Regions from separate parts of the Homo sapiens genome. Here regions 1 and 3 are each linked to region 2. The links are contacts of gene promoters, found by promoter capture Hi-C in human tissues and cell types (Jung and others, 2019). All regions are on one chromosome and are shown on one strand. Each heading gives the region's core, a stretch centred on a gene start or on the middle of the fragment in contact. The rest is flanking DNA. Distances are from core to core; before and after follow the strand shown. Region 1 overlaps SMURF1 (SMAD specific E3 ubiquitin protein ligase 1). Region 2 holds the start of KPNA7 (karyopherin subunit alpha 7). Region 3 overlaps ARPC1A (actin related protein 2/3 complex subunit 1A).

What was found. The method cuts DNA at HindIII sites, captures the fragments that hold promoters and counts their contacts. A contact is called where the count stands out against the background at its distance.
Region 1: a fragment that was not itself captured here is called in contact with the fragment with the promoter of KPNA7 in region 2 in 1 of the 25 tissues and cell types used here (H1 embryonic stem cells).
Region 3: a contact is called between a fragment that was not itself captured here and the fragment with the promoter of KPNA7 in region 2, in 1 of the 25 tissues and cell types used here (aorta).

What each region holds. Positions count from the first base shown.
Region 1 is chr7:99,074,394-99,078,474 of GRCh38, reverse strand. The region is part of intron 1 of SMURF1 (SMAD specific E3 ubiquitin protein ligase 1); the gene reads left to right. Among named protein-coding and RNA genes, the nearest start is that of SMURF1, 68 kb to the left of the region's middle. The HindIII fragment of the contact is 3,837 bases long and covers 570-4,081 here.
Region 2 is chr7:99,205,847-99,209,869 of GRCh38, reverse strand. It overlaps KPNA7 (karyopherin subunit alpha 7), which reads left to right and starts at 1,755. Exons shown (of 11, transcript NM_001145715.3): 1 at 1,755-1,842; 2 at 2,381-2,469. The coding sequence starts at 2,404. The HindIII fragment of the contact is 15,790 bases long and covers 1-4,023 here.
Region 3 is chr7:99,346,396-99,350,943 of GRCh38, reverse strand. ARPC1A (actin related protein 2/3 complex subunit 1A) reads right to left here. Exons shown (of 10, transcript NM_006409.4): 5 at 1,985-2,092. Among named protein-coding and RNA genes, the nearest start is that of ARPC1A, 23 kb to the right of the region's middle. The HindIII fragment of the contact is 4,878 bases long and covers 221-4,548 here.

The sequences.
Region 1 (4,081 bases), core at 1,239-3,738, 130 kb after region 2:
TTTTGTGAGTAGAGCTGTGTATATGTTTATCTTAAATATCTATTCTGTCATTACTATTGGTATAGCAAAGAAGAGGCAGTCCACAGCATGTGTTCAGTCTGTCAGTCTCAAACCTAATTATCTGTCAATTTTATTCAAGTTGGAAGTGTGAAATTAAGCTCTCAATTCGGTGCCACTTTTTTTTTTTTTTTTTCGCCCAGGCTGGAGTGCACTGGTATGATCTCAGCTCAACGCAACCTCTGCCTCCCAGGTTCAAGTGATTCTCCTGCCTCAGCCTCCCGTGTAGCTGGGATTACAGGCACCCACTACCACGCCTGGCTAATTTTTTTGTATTTCTAGTAGAGACGGGGTTTCACCATATTTGGCCAGGCTGGTCTTGAACTCCTGACCTCAGGTGATCCACCTGCCTCGGCCTCCCAAAGTGCTGGGATTATAGGAGTGAGTGACTGTGCCCGGCACTGGTGCCACTATTTTTTTTTTAAATAAAGACATGAAAAGCCACAAGATTTCAGATAACGAAGCAAATAACCGAGTAATAGAATGAGCCCTTTCAGGATTCTGTAAAAGCTGTTTTATTTGTGAATTAATTTTTGAAAAATTTTACCCTGAGTCTTCAAAACTTTGTATTTTTCTGTGGTTACTGACATTAGTGACATTTCTTTTTGATTTGTCCCTGTCTTCTGTAACATATTTATATTATACATCAACCTGGAAAAATTTCATATTCAGCCCTTTAGAGTTGCCTGATGGTGGAAATCACAAATGACATATTAATAATCTGAACAAAGAATAGAAAGTGAACCAGACATAGCACCAGTGCCTGTGCTTAGAAGTGGATTAAGAGGCCAGGCGCAGTGGCTCACACCTGTAATCCCAGCACTTTGGGAGGCTGAGGCAGGTGGATCATGAGGTCAAGAGATCAAGAACATCCTGGCCAACATGTTGAAACCCCATCTCTACTAAAAATACAAAAAGTTAGCCGGGTGTGGTGGTGGGCACCTGTAGTCCCAGCTACTCGAGAGGCTGAGGCAGGAGAATAACTTGAACCCGGGAGGCAGAGGTTGCACTGAGCTGAGATTGCGCCACTGTACTCCAGCCTGGCAACAGAGCGAGACTCCATCTCAAAAAAAAAATAAAAAAAAATAAAAAAAATAAAAAAAAAGAAGTGGATTAAGAATCCTAGCTACTGTCAGTTTAATCCTTTTTTAAAGTCACTAATATTTTAATATAAAAAGTAAGCTTTTACTTTTCCTCATAAATGTTTTTCATATCATCATTCTTTGCAGAAAATTTAAAGATTACAACCAGGTGAAAAGAAGAGAAATAAATTATACCATAATTTATTATTAAAGAAAGATAATTATACTGTATTAGTTGACATCATTCCAGACTCTTAAATACACATTTATCCACATACACACAATTTTACCAAAAAGAGTTTACCTCGTCACTGTTCTGTAACCTTTTTTGTTTTTTTTTTTATTATAGACATTATTTTTTAGAACAATTTTGGACTTATGGAATTATTGCCAAGGTAGGACAGACAGTTCCCATGTTACCCCTTCCGCCCCCACACGCGCACACACGTGCACACACATGCAGGCACACGCACACACATGCACGTGCACACACATACACATGGGCACACGTGCACACATGCACACTTGCACACATGCGCACACACACATGTACATACGCATACACACGTCCAGATTCCCCAATTAACAGCATCTAACATGACTGCAGTACATTTGTTGCAATTAATGAAGCAATTTTAATACACTGTTACTAACTCAAGTCCATGCTTTCACTGTCTTATTTTTTACCTACTGACATGTTCTGTTTCAGGATCCCATCCAGGATATGACATCACATTTAGTTGTCATATTTCCTTAGGTTGCTCTTGGCTGTGACAGTTTCTTAGACTTTCCTTGCTTTTGATGATCTTGACAGCTTTGAGAAGCACTGGTCAGGTATTTGTAGAATGTTCCTCCACTGGAAGTGTTTGATGTTTGTGTCATGATTAGATTGGGATTATGCATTTTAGAGAGGAAGACCACAGAAGTGAAGTACCATTCTCATCGGGTCCTGTCAAAATTTCATGCTCTTAATATCAGCGTGACTTGTCACTGTTGATGTTGACCTTGATCACCTGGCTGAGATGGTGTTCGTCAGGTTTCTCCACTGTAAAGTTACTTTTTTTTCCTCTCTTTCCATACTGGACTCTTTGGAAGGAAGTCACTACACACAGCTCACACTTAAGGAGTAGGGGCTGGGTGTGGGGGCCCACGCCTGTAATCCCAGCACTTCGGTAGGCTGTGGCTGGAGGATCGCTTGAGCCCAGGATTTGAGACCAGGCTGGGCAACATTGCGAGACCCCATCGCTATAAAAAATAAAAAATTAGCCAGGATAAGGTAATGACCTGCAGGACACATGAAGAAGGTGACTGGGGAACTGGCCATGCTCTATTTCCTGACCTGGGTGCTAATTATATACGTGTGTTCAGTTTGTGAGAATTCAGTGAGCTGTACACTCAGATATTTATAAATCAATCATAAACATCAATAGACAGAATAGAAAGTCCAAATATAGACCCATGTCAACTGATGTTCTTCAAAGGTGCCAAGACAATTCGATGATGGGGAAAAAAAGATAGCCTTGTCTAGACTGGAAAATAGGAAATCCAGCCAGAATGAATGGGATATCCTTATGAAAAAAGAATAATAATAAGTCTCAACCCTTACCTCACATCATACACAAAAATTGACCTGTGTGTGATACTCTGAGCTGTTGTTACACATGACACTGATGACACCTAATGTGTGGGTTTTTTTTTTTTTTCCCCACATCAATCCCAATTCTGATGCTAACTGGCTATTCTACAGTTCGATTCAATCCCAACGCTTAATTCCCCAGAATTAGCAAAGACCCCACAGGTTAAGGGCTCAGTCCCACAAGACTACTCCTACCTTATCCATGAGTTGCAAATCAAAGGTTGTCACCTATATTTCTGACTAATAAATAAATCGGGGGTTCCCTTTGCAGGTTCAGTAATTTGCTAGAGGCCTGTAATCCTGTAATCCCAGCACTTTGGGAGGCTGAAGCAGGCAGATCACTTGAGGCCAGGAGTTCAAGCCCAGCCTGAGCAACAGACTGAGATTCCAGCTGTACAAAAAATTAAACAAAATGAGCCAGGCTTGGTGGCGCATGCCTGTAGTCCCAGCTACTTGGGGAGGCTGAGGTGGGAGGATCGCTTGAACCTGGGAGGTTGAGGCTGCAGTGAGCTGTGATTGTGCCACTGCACTCCAGCCTGGGTGACAGAGTGTAGACCCTGTCTCAAAATAATAATAATTTGCTAGAATGTCTCCAGGAGTCAGGAAAACACTACTTACTACTGCTACTTCCACCTCCTTGCTAGCACTTAGTATTGTCAGTCTTTTTAATTTTAGCAATTCTAGTAGGTATGTGGTGGTACCTTACTGTGGTTTTCATGTGCATTGTGCATTGTACCAATGATTATTGATACTGAGCATGTTTTTCTGTGCTTATTGGCCATGTGATGTCTTTTTTGGTAAGGTGTCTATTTAAAAGTTAATTTTAAAAATTTTTATAGAGATAGGGTCTCACTGTTTTGCCCAGGCTGATCTTGAACACCTGGACACAAGTCATCCTCCCACCTTGGCTTCCCAGTGTTGGGATTACAGTTGTGAGCTGCTGTGCTCAGCCAAATATCAATTTTTTAATTGGATTGGGTTTTTTTTTTAAATTGAGTTGTAGAGTTCTTTATTCTAGATGCAGGTCTTTTGTTGGTCATATGGGTTGTTAATATTTTCTCCCAGTCTGTCTCTTGCCCTTTCATTTTCCTAATGGTATCTAGTTTTTACGTTATTGTATTTAATTTTTATGTTTCTGCTCCGTTTGAGGCCAATTTTTGTGTATGATGTGAGGTAAGGGTTGAGACTTATTATTATTCTTTTTTCATAATGATATCCCATTCATTCTGGCTGGATTTCTTATTTTCCAGTCTAGACAAGGCTATCTTTTTTCCCCCATCATCGAATTGTCTTGGCATCTTTGAAG
Region 2 (4,023 bases), core at 506-3,005:
TGCCCAGCTTATTTTTATATTTTTTGTAGAGACGGGGGTCTTGCTTTGTTGCCCAAGCTGGTCTTGAACACCTGGCCTTAAGCAAGTCTCCACCTTAACCTCTCAAGTTGTTGAGATTACAGGCATGAGCCACTGTGCCTGACTAATCAGATTTTTTTCTTTTTTTTTTTTTTTTTTTTTTTTTTTTGAGTTGGAGTCTCGCTCTGTTGCCCAGGCTGGAGTGTAGTGGTGCGATCTTGGCTCACGGCAACCTCCGCCCCCTGGGTTCAAGCGATTCTCCTGTCTCAGCCTCCTGAGTAGCTGGGACTACAGGTGCCTGCCACTACGCCTGGCTAATTTTGTACTTTTAGTAGAGACAGGGTTTCGCCATGTTGGTCTGGCTGGTCTCGAACTCCTGACCTCAGGTGATCCACAATCACATGTACTCTGTGCAAAGAACAGATTGGAATAAGGCAATGGGAGAAGCAGGGAGACCAGCTGGAAGGCAACTGCAGTAGTGTGGGTAAGAGGTGATAGTGGTCTGGACTGGGGTGGAGGCAGTCTACTGAAGGATTCTCAGTGACTTGTGCTTGAGACTGTCCTGACCCCATGTGCTGGTGCATTGGGTGTGGGGTTTTCCTGTTGCAGCCTTGGCGGGTCTCCTCACCACCCTGTACATATGCCTGATTTATAACTCCTCAGACACACCGTGTGAAAGCCTTCTTTTCTTTTTCTTTTTGAGACGGAATCTTACTCTGTTGCCCAGGCTCGAGTACAGTGGCGCAATCTCAGCTCACTGCAACCTCCGCCTCCCGGATTCAAGTGATCCTCCTGCTTCAGCCTCCCAAATAGCTGGAATTATAGGTGTCCGCCACCATGCCTGACTAATTTTTGTATTTCTAGTAGAGATGGGGTTTCCCCATGTTGCCCAGGCTGATCTCGAACTCCTGGCCTCAAGTGATCCATCTGCCTCAGCCTTCCAAAGTGCTGGGATTATAGGTGTGAGCCACTGCACCTGGCATGAAAGGCTTCTATATATGACAACCAGCCCATCTGCCTCATTTGAGGACCCAGTTGAAGCCAAAGCACTTTTAAAAGCTTTCCTTTACTGCTATGCCCAGCATTGGTGGTCTTGGTGCTCCCACAGTGTTCACAGCCTACTGAGCTGGTGTGGTGATGCTTATAGAAGCTGACTTCAGGTTCATGCCTGTAATCCCAGCACTTTGGGAGGCTGAGGTGGGTGGATCACAAGGTCAGGAGTTCAAGACCAGCCTGGCCAACGTGGTGAAAAGCCGACTCTACAAAAACAAACAAAACCAAAAATAAGCCAGGTGTGGCCGGGCACGGTGGCTCACGCCTGTAATCCCAGCACTTTGGGAGGCCGAGGTGGGTGGATCACGAGGTCAGGAGATAGAGACCATCCTGGCTAACACGGTGAAACCCCGTCTCTACTAAAAATACAAAAAAATTTGCTGAGCGTGGTGGCAGGTGCCTGTAGTCCCAGCTACTCGGGAGGCTGAGGTAGGAGAATGGCGTGAACCCGGGAGGCGGAGCTTGCAGTGAGCCAAGATTGCGCCACCGCACTCCAGCCTGGGTGACAGAGTGAGACTCTGTCTCAAAAAATAAATAAATAAAATAAATAAAAAGTGAGTCATGTGTGGTGGCTCATGCCTGTAGTCCCAGCTACTCAAGAGGCTGAGGTGGGTGAATCACTTGAGTCCAGGAGGTCAAGGTTGCAGTGAGCCGTGATTGTGCCAATGCACTCCAGCCCGGGTGACAGAGTGAGACTCTGATGCCAACAAGCAGGTCTTGCAGAAATAGGACATGGAGCTGAGAAGTCCAGACTGTTGTTCTTGCTGCCAGGTTGAGCCCAAGGGTTGGGGACGGGGAGTCTGTGCTGTGTATATGGGTTCTAACTCTCACTCAGCTTCTCTGGTCCCAAAAAATAAAAAATGCTGGCTGGGAGCGGTGGCTCATGCCTGTAATCCCAGCACTTTGGGAGGCCGAGGTGGGCGGATCACAAGGTCAGGAGTTCAAGACCAGCCTGGCCAACGTGGTGAAACCCCGTCTCTACTAAAAAGACAAAAATTAGCCGGGCGTGGTGGCAGGCGCCTATAGTCCCAGCTACCTGGGAGGCTGAGGCAGGAGAACCACTTGAACCCGGGAGGCGGAGGTTGCAGTGAACTGATATCCCCCCACTGCACTCAAGTCTGGGCAACAGAGCGAGACTCTGTCTCAAAAAAAAAAAAAAAAAAAAAAAAAAAAAAAAAAAAAAAAGCTAGCTTCCTGGGTCTGCCCTTTGCTCCACTGTGAGCCCTTTAAGGGTTAGAGCCTTATGATACTGACATAATAACCCACACAATGGGCACTGAAAATTTCTTTGTTGCTGTCCAACCTGCAGGTAACTTACTACTTCCAGTCAATATGCCGACCTTAGATGCTCCAGAAGAGAGGCGGAGAAAATTTAAGTACCGAGGCAAAGATGTGTCTGTGAGTATGAAGCACCCACCTGCTTCTATTGGGGACCAGTGCAATCTGCATAAAAAGCGGGGTGAAGAGACCAGGCGCGGTGGCTCATGCCTGTAATCCCAACACTTTGAGAGGCTGAGACGGGCAGATCACAAGGTCAGGAGGTTAAGACGATCCTGGCCAACATGGTGTAACCCCGTCTCTACTAAAAATACAAAAATGACCTGGGTGTGGTGGCTTGTACTTGTAATCCCAGCTACTTGGGAGGCTGAGGCAGGAGAATTGCTTGAACCTGGGAGGCAGAGGTTGCAGTGAGCTGAGATCAGGCCACTGCACTCCAGCCTGGGCGACAAGAGAGAAACTCCATCTCAAAAAAAAAATAGCGGGGGGCAGGGAGGTGGTGGAGAGATGGGTTGAAAAGGCAAATATAGCAAAAGATTCTTTAGATAGATGACTAGGTGTTTCCCTGAATTATCCTTCCAACTTTTCTGTATGTTTGCTATTTTCATCATAAAATATTAAAGGTGGAGAAGACAAAAGCATGTGGACTTAGGAGCCAGACAACTGTGGAATCAAATCAAAGTTTCCGTGGAATCTTGCAATTATTTAATTTCAGAACCCCAGTTTCTTCATCCATAAAACAGGGCTGCTTAGCTGGGCATGGTAGCTCATGCCTGTGTTCCCAGTACTTTGGGGGAGGCCAAGGTGGGAGGATCGCTTGAAGATAGGAGTTCTAGACCAGCCTGGGTAACATACCAAGACCTCCAACTCTACAAAAACAAAAAATCGGCCAGGTGTGGTGGTGTGTGCCTGTAGTCTCAGATACTCTGGTGGCTGAGGCAGGAGGATTGCTTGAGCCCAGGAGTTCAAGGCTGCAGTGAACTGTGATTGTGCCACTGCACTCCAATCTGGGTGACAGAGCCAGACCCTGTCTCTAAAACAAAACCAAATAAAAAACCAGGCTGGGCTGGGCATGATGGCTCACACCTGTAATTCCAGCACTTTGGGAGGCCAAAGTGATCACTTGAGGTCAGGAGTTCGAGACCAGCCTGGCCAACATGGTGAAACCCTGTCTGTACTAAGAATACAAAAAATTAGATGTGCATGGTGGCGGGGGCCTGTAATCCCAGCTACTTGGGAGGCTGAAGCAGGAGAACTGCTTGAACCTGGGAGGTGGAGGTTGCAGTGAGTCGAGATTGTGCCACTGCACTCCATCCAGGCGACAGTGTGAGACTTCGTCTGAAAAAAATAAAAAACCAGGCTGCTATTTATCTCCGAGGAGCTGGATTGCTTCCTCAAGGGCCAGTATACAGGTGTTTACAGCTGCTCACGTCAATGAGGCTTACCAAGGAGCTAAAACGTTAGCATATAGGTATGGCCAACAGGCATGCCTTGTAGAAATAGGACTTGGAACTGAGAAGTCCAGGCTGTTCTTGCTTCCAGGTTGAGCCCAAGGGCTGGGGACGGGGGGTGTGTGCTGTGTATATGGATTCTAACATTCACTCGGCTTCTTTGGTCACATAGTTTTGTGTTGCAAGCTCTGTCCTCCATCTCTGTATCTTTTTATTTTTGAGA
Region 3 (4,548 bases), core at 1,410-3,909, 140 kb before region 2:
TGAGTGTAGTGGCTCATCCCTGTAAGCCCAGCACTTTGGGAGGCCAAGGCAGAAGGATTCTTTGAGCCCAGGAGTTTGAGACCAGCCTGGGCAACATAGTGAGACCCCATCTCTACAAAAAATAAACAAAATCAGCCAGGCATGGTGGCTCATGCCTGTGGTCCCAGCTACTCAGGAGACTGAGGTGGGAGGATTGCTTGAGTCCGGGAGGTCGAAGCTGCAGGGAGCTATGATCGCACCACCACACTCCAGCCTGGGTGACAGAGCAAGACCTTGTCTCAAAAAAAAAAAAAAAAAAAAAAAAAAAAAAAAGTGCACCTCATCTCCCAACCTACCATATAGTCAACACAAAGCAACATTTATTTGCTTTGCTTTCCTTTCAGCTAAAGGGAAAAAAGCATATTCTTGAGAAAGAACAACTTTAAAAAGCAATTACATGGAATTCCATGGTATGATCCTTAAAGTTCTTAGCAAAGTGGCTGCATTTCTTCTAGCTTCAAGCTAATGACAAAATAAAAAGCTTTAACTGAAAGAACAGCACAATAACAGCTTAGCAGCGCACTGTTTAGCTATGTTTTATTAATTGTTTCACTTTGGAATTTGCAGAGACTGCTGCCTGGAATATGAAATGAGAAAAATACTGTTGTCAAGAAAGACAGGGAGAAAGGGAGACACAGAAAGAGATGGTAAGAAAGAGACAGAGACAGAGACAGAGAGAGTACATGCTAATCCTCCCCTCTAAACCATAGATATTCTTACACTTAAGGAAATCTTCGCTGGCCCCACCCTTGCCTCTCCCTCCTACCCCACTTCCAAGTGGATTTCTTTTTACCTCAGTGACTTATGAACTTGTTCTTTTAATCACCATGCTTGAGCTCCTTTTCTGGATCACAAACTGCTTCCATTTTTTTGTTTTGTTTTTGTTTGTTTTTTGAGATGGAGTCTTACTCTGTCGCCCAGGCTGGAGTGCAGTGGTGTGATTTCAGCTCACTGCAACCTCCACCTCCCCGGTTCAAATGATTCTCATGCCCTAGCCTCCCAAGTAGCTGGGATTACAGGCATTTGTGACCACACCAGGCTAACTTTTATTTATTTATTTATTTTGAGACAGAGTCTCGCTCTGTCGCCCAGGCTGGAGTGCAGTGGTGTGATCTCGGCTCACTGCAAGCTCCGCCTCCCGAGTTCACACCATTCTCCTGCCTCAGCCTCCCGAGTAGCTGGGACTACAGGCACCCGCCACCACGCCCGGCTAATTTTTTGTATTTTTTTAGTAGAGACGGGGTTTCACTGTGTTAGCCAGGATGGTCTCGATCTCCTGACCTTGTGATCCGCCCACCTCAGCCTCCCAAAGTGCTGGGATTACGGGCGTGAGCTACTGCGCCCGGCCTCTTTTGTATTTTTAGTAGACACGGGGTTTCACCATGTTGGCCAAGTTGGTCTTGAACTTCCAACCTCAGGTGATCCGCCCACCTCAGCCTCCCAAAGTGCTGGGATTACAGGTGTGAGCCACAGCACCAGGCCTCATTTTTGAGTCCCTCACAGTGCCTAGCGCAGTACCTTGCAAAGAAAAGGAAACTTACAGGCCAGGCACACTGGCTCATGCCTGTAATCCCAGCACTTCAGGAGGCCAAGGAGGGAGGATCACTTGAGGCCAGGAGTTCAAGACCAACCTGGGCAATGTAGCAAGACCCCGTCTCTACAAAGAATAAAGACAATTTTAAAAAAATTAGCCAGGTGTGGTGGCATATACCTGTAGTCCCAACTACTCTGGAGGCTGAGGCTGGAGGATCGCTTGAGCCCAGGAATTGGAGGCTGCAGTGAGCTATGATGGTGCCACTGCACTCCAGCCTGGGTGAGAGTGAGACCCTGTCTCAAAACAACAACAACCACAACAAAACAAAAAACAAAGAAAGAGAACCTAAAATTATTTGTTGAAGGATGAAGAATGCACGGCTCAAGTTTATCAGTTCTCACTGGTTCCCACCTGCATTTGAAGTCACATGATCCTGCTGCCAGCAAAACGTTGTTGGGATGCCAATCCAAGCTGAGGACTGTGGAGCGAATCGGCTTTTTAATGTGCTTGCTCACCCACCTATGAGAGGGGAAAACTGTTTCAGTTTATCCACTCAACCAGCATCCCCAAATGACCTACAAATGTATGTCAGGTGAAAATACCTAAGTAGGCCACACTTTTCCTTAATTTAAAAAAAAATTATAAAACAATTCAGAATATTATTTTTTTCAGAATAAACTTTTTCAGATAGGTTTCTATAAAAAAAGATTCTATAGAAAAGTAACAGAGCATTCAACGTTCTTCTGTCGGTCACCAGGCCTTCTGCCAGAGACAAGGTTTTTTGATACCAGGTTATGATCTGAGACTGGCTAATTTTTGTATTTTTTGTAGAGATGAGATTTCTCCATGTTGCCCAGGCTGGTCTCAAACTCTGGGGCTCAAGTGATCTACCGGCCTCAGCCTCCCAAAGTGCTGGGATTACAGGCATGAGCCACTACGCCCAGCTGACAAGGTGCATTGCTAAAGGACAGAAAGGAAAAGAACCATGAACAGGCCTTCTCCACTCCTGGCCCTGATGTTCTCAGCACAACAGCTGGTTTTCAGCAGTCCTCATTAGTAAGCATAGATATTGATTAACTCAGTTATGTTTTCGTGAGATTTCGGATTACATAGGACGTTAACCTCTGAGATAAAAACTGAAGTTTGAAAATACTTCAATTTTTATTATGAATATTCAGTGATTTGCTGAATTTTTGGTGAATTTGGGGTTGTAAGACAGCTTAATATCCTTCCCAAGTCTCCACGAATCTGCAAATTCTTTTTAATTTCTTTCACTGAAAAATCACAACCAAGAAATTAGAAGAACCTCATGTTGGGGATTAGCCTCTAATTCGCTAGCACCATCCAAAAAAGATGATTTATGTCTAGGACCAGTCAGTATTTTGGCTTAACTAATTCATTTCTGCCCCCAAACTGCTGTTTAAAAACCAATCACGTCTGGTTGCTCAACAGTTGGGAGACTAAATATTGAGCCAATGCCTTTCCTTCAATGCTAAATTACCTTTCTATAGAATCACTTTCTTTCTTTTTTTTTTTTTTTTGAGATGGAGTTTCGCTCTTGTTGTCCAGGCTGGAGTGCAATGGCGTGATCTCAGCTCACCGCAACCTCCACCTCCCGGGGTCAAGCAAGAATCACTTTCTTTTATTTATTTATTTTTTATTTTTTTGAGACAGAGTCTTACTCTGTCATCCAGGCTGGAGTGCAGTGGCGCAATGTCAGCTCACTGCAACCTCTGCCTCCTGTGTTCAAGCAATTCTTGTGCCTCAGCCTCCCGATAGCTGGGATTATAGGCTCACGCCACCACGCCCGGCTAATTTTTGTAATTTTAGAGGAGATTAGCTTTCACCATGTTGGCCAGGCTGGTCTCAAACTCCTGGTCTCAGGTGATCTGCCTGCCTTAGCCTCCCAAAGTGCTAGGATTACAGGCATGAGCCACCACGCCTGGCTACAGAATCACTTTCTTAGTATCCTGTCTGAAGAAGTTCATTCTGAAAAAGACAGCCAGGTGCAGAGGCTTGCAACTATACTCCCAGCACTTTGGAAGACCAAAGCAGAAGGATTGCTTGAGTACAGGAATTTGAGATCAGCCTGGGCAAGAAAAGTGAGAACCTGTCTCCACAAGTAATCAAAAAATTAGCCAGGTGTGGTGGTGCAAACCTGTAGTCCCAACTACTTGGGAGGCTGAAGTGGCAAGACTGCTGGATCCCAGGAGTTGGAGACTGCAGTGAGCCGTGTTTGTACCACTGTACTCCAGACTGGGTGACAGAGAGAAACCCTGTCTCAAAAAATAAATAAATAAATAAAATAAAAAACCAAAATCCCCCACAAAGTCTCTAAAAAAGGAGAAAAAGACAGTATTTCGAATTGTTTCATAATGTATACATATTTTTTGAGACAGAGTCTTGCTCTGTTGCCCAGGCTGGAGTGCAGTGGCATGGTCTCGGCTCATTGCAACCTCTACCTCCCTGGTTCAAGCGATTCTCCTGCCTCAGACTCCCAAGTAGCTGGGATTATAGGCATGCACCACCACACCTGGCTAATATTTTGTATTTTTAGTAGAGATGGGGTTTCTCCATGTTGGCCAGGATGGTTTCGAACTCTTGACTTCGTGATCCGCCTGCCTTGGCCTCGCAAAGTGCTGGGATTGCAGGCGTGAGCTACCGTGCCTGGCCTTTATAATGTAATTTTTTTAATTAAGGAAAAGATGGCAAGCAAAATAATTAGTTCATATGGCTGAATTATAAACTTCTGAGAAGTTGTTTTAAAGTACTCCTATGAAATATGAAATAATTGTTCTACAGCTGAGAAACTGCCCTAAACATACAGCTTGTTCAAAGACAATACCTTGTACCATAATAAAGTCCAATTTACCTATACTTGACACTAATTCTCAACGAATAAAAATGTAAACAATTACTGAGGTTGAAGCTTAACTTGGAAGAAAAGTTTCCTGTAGAAATTTGTAAGATTGCAA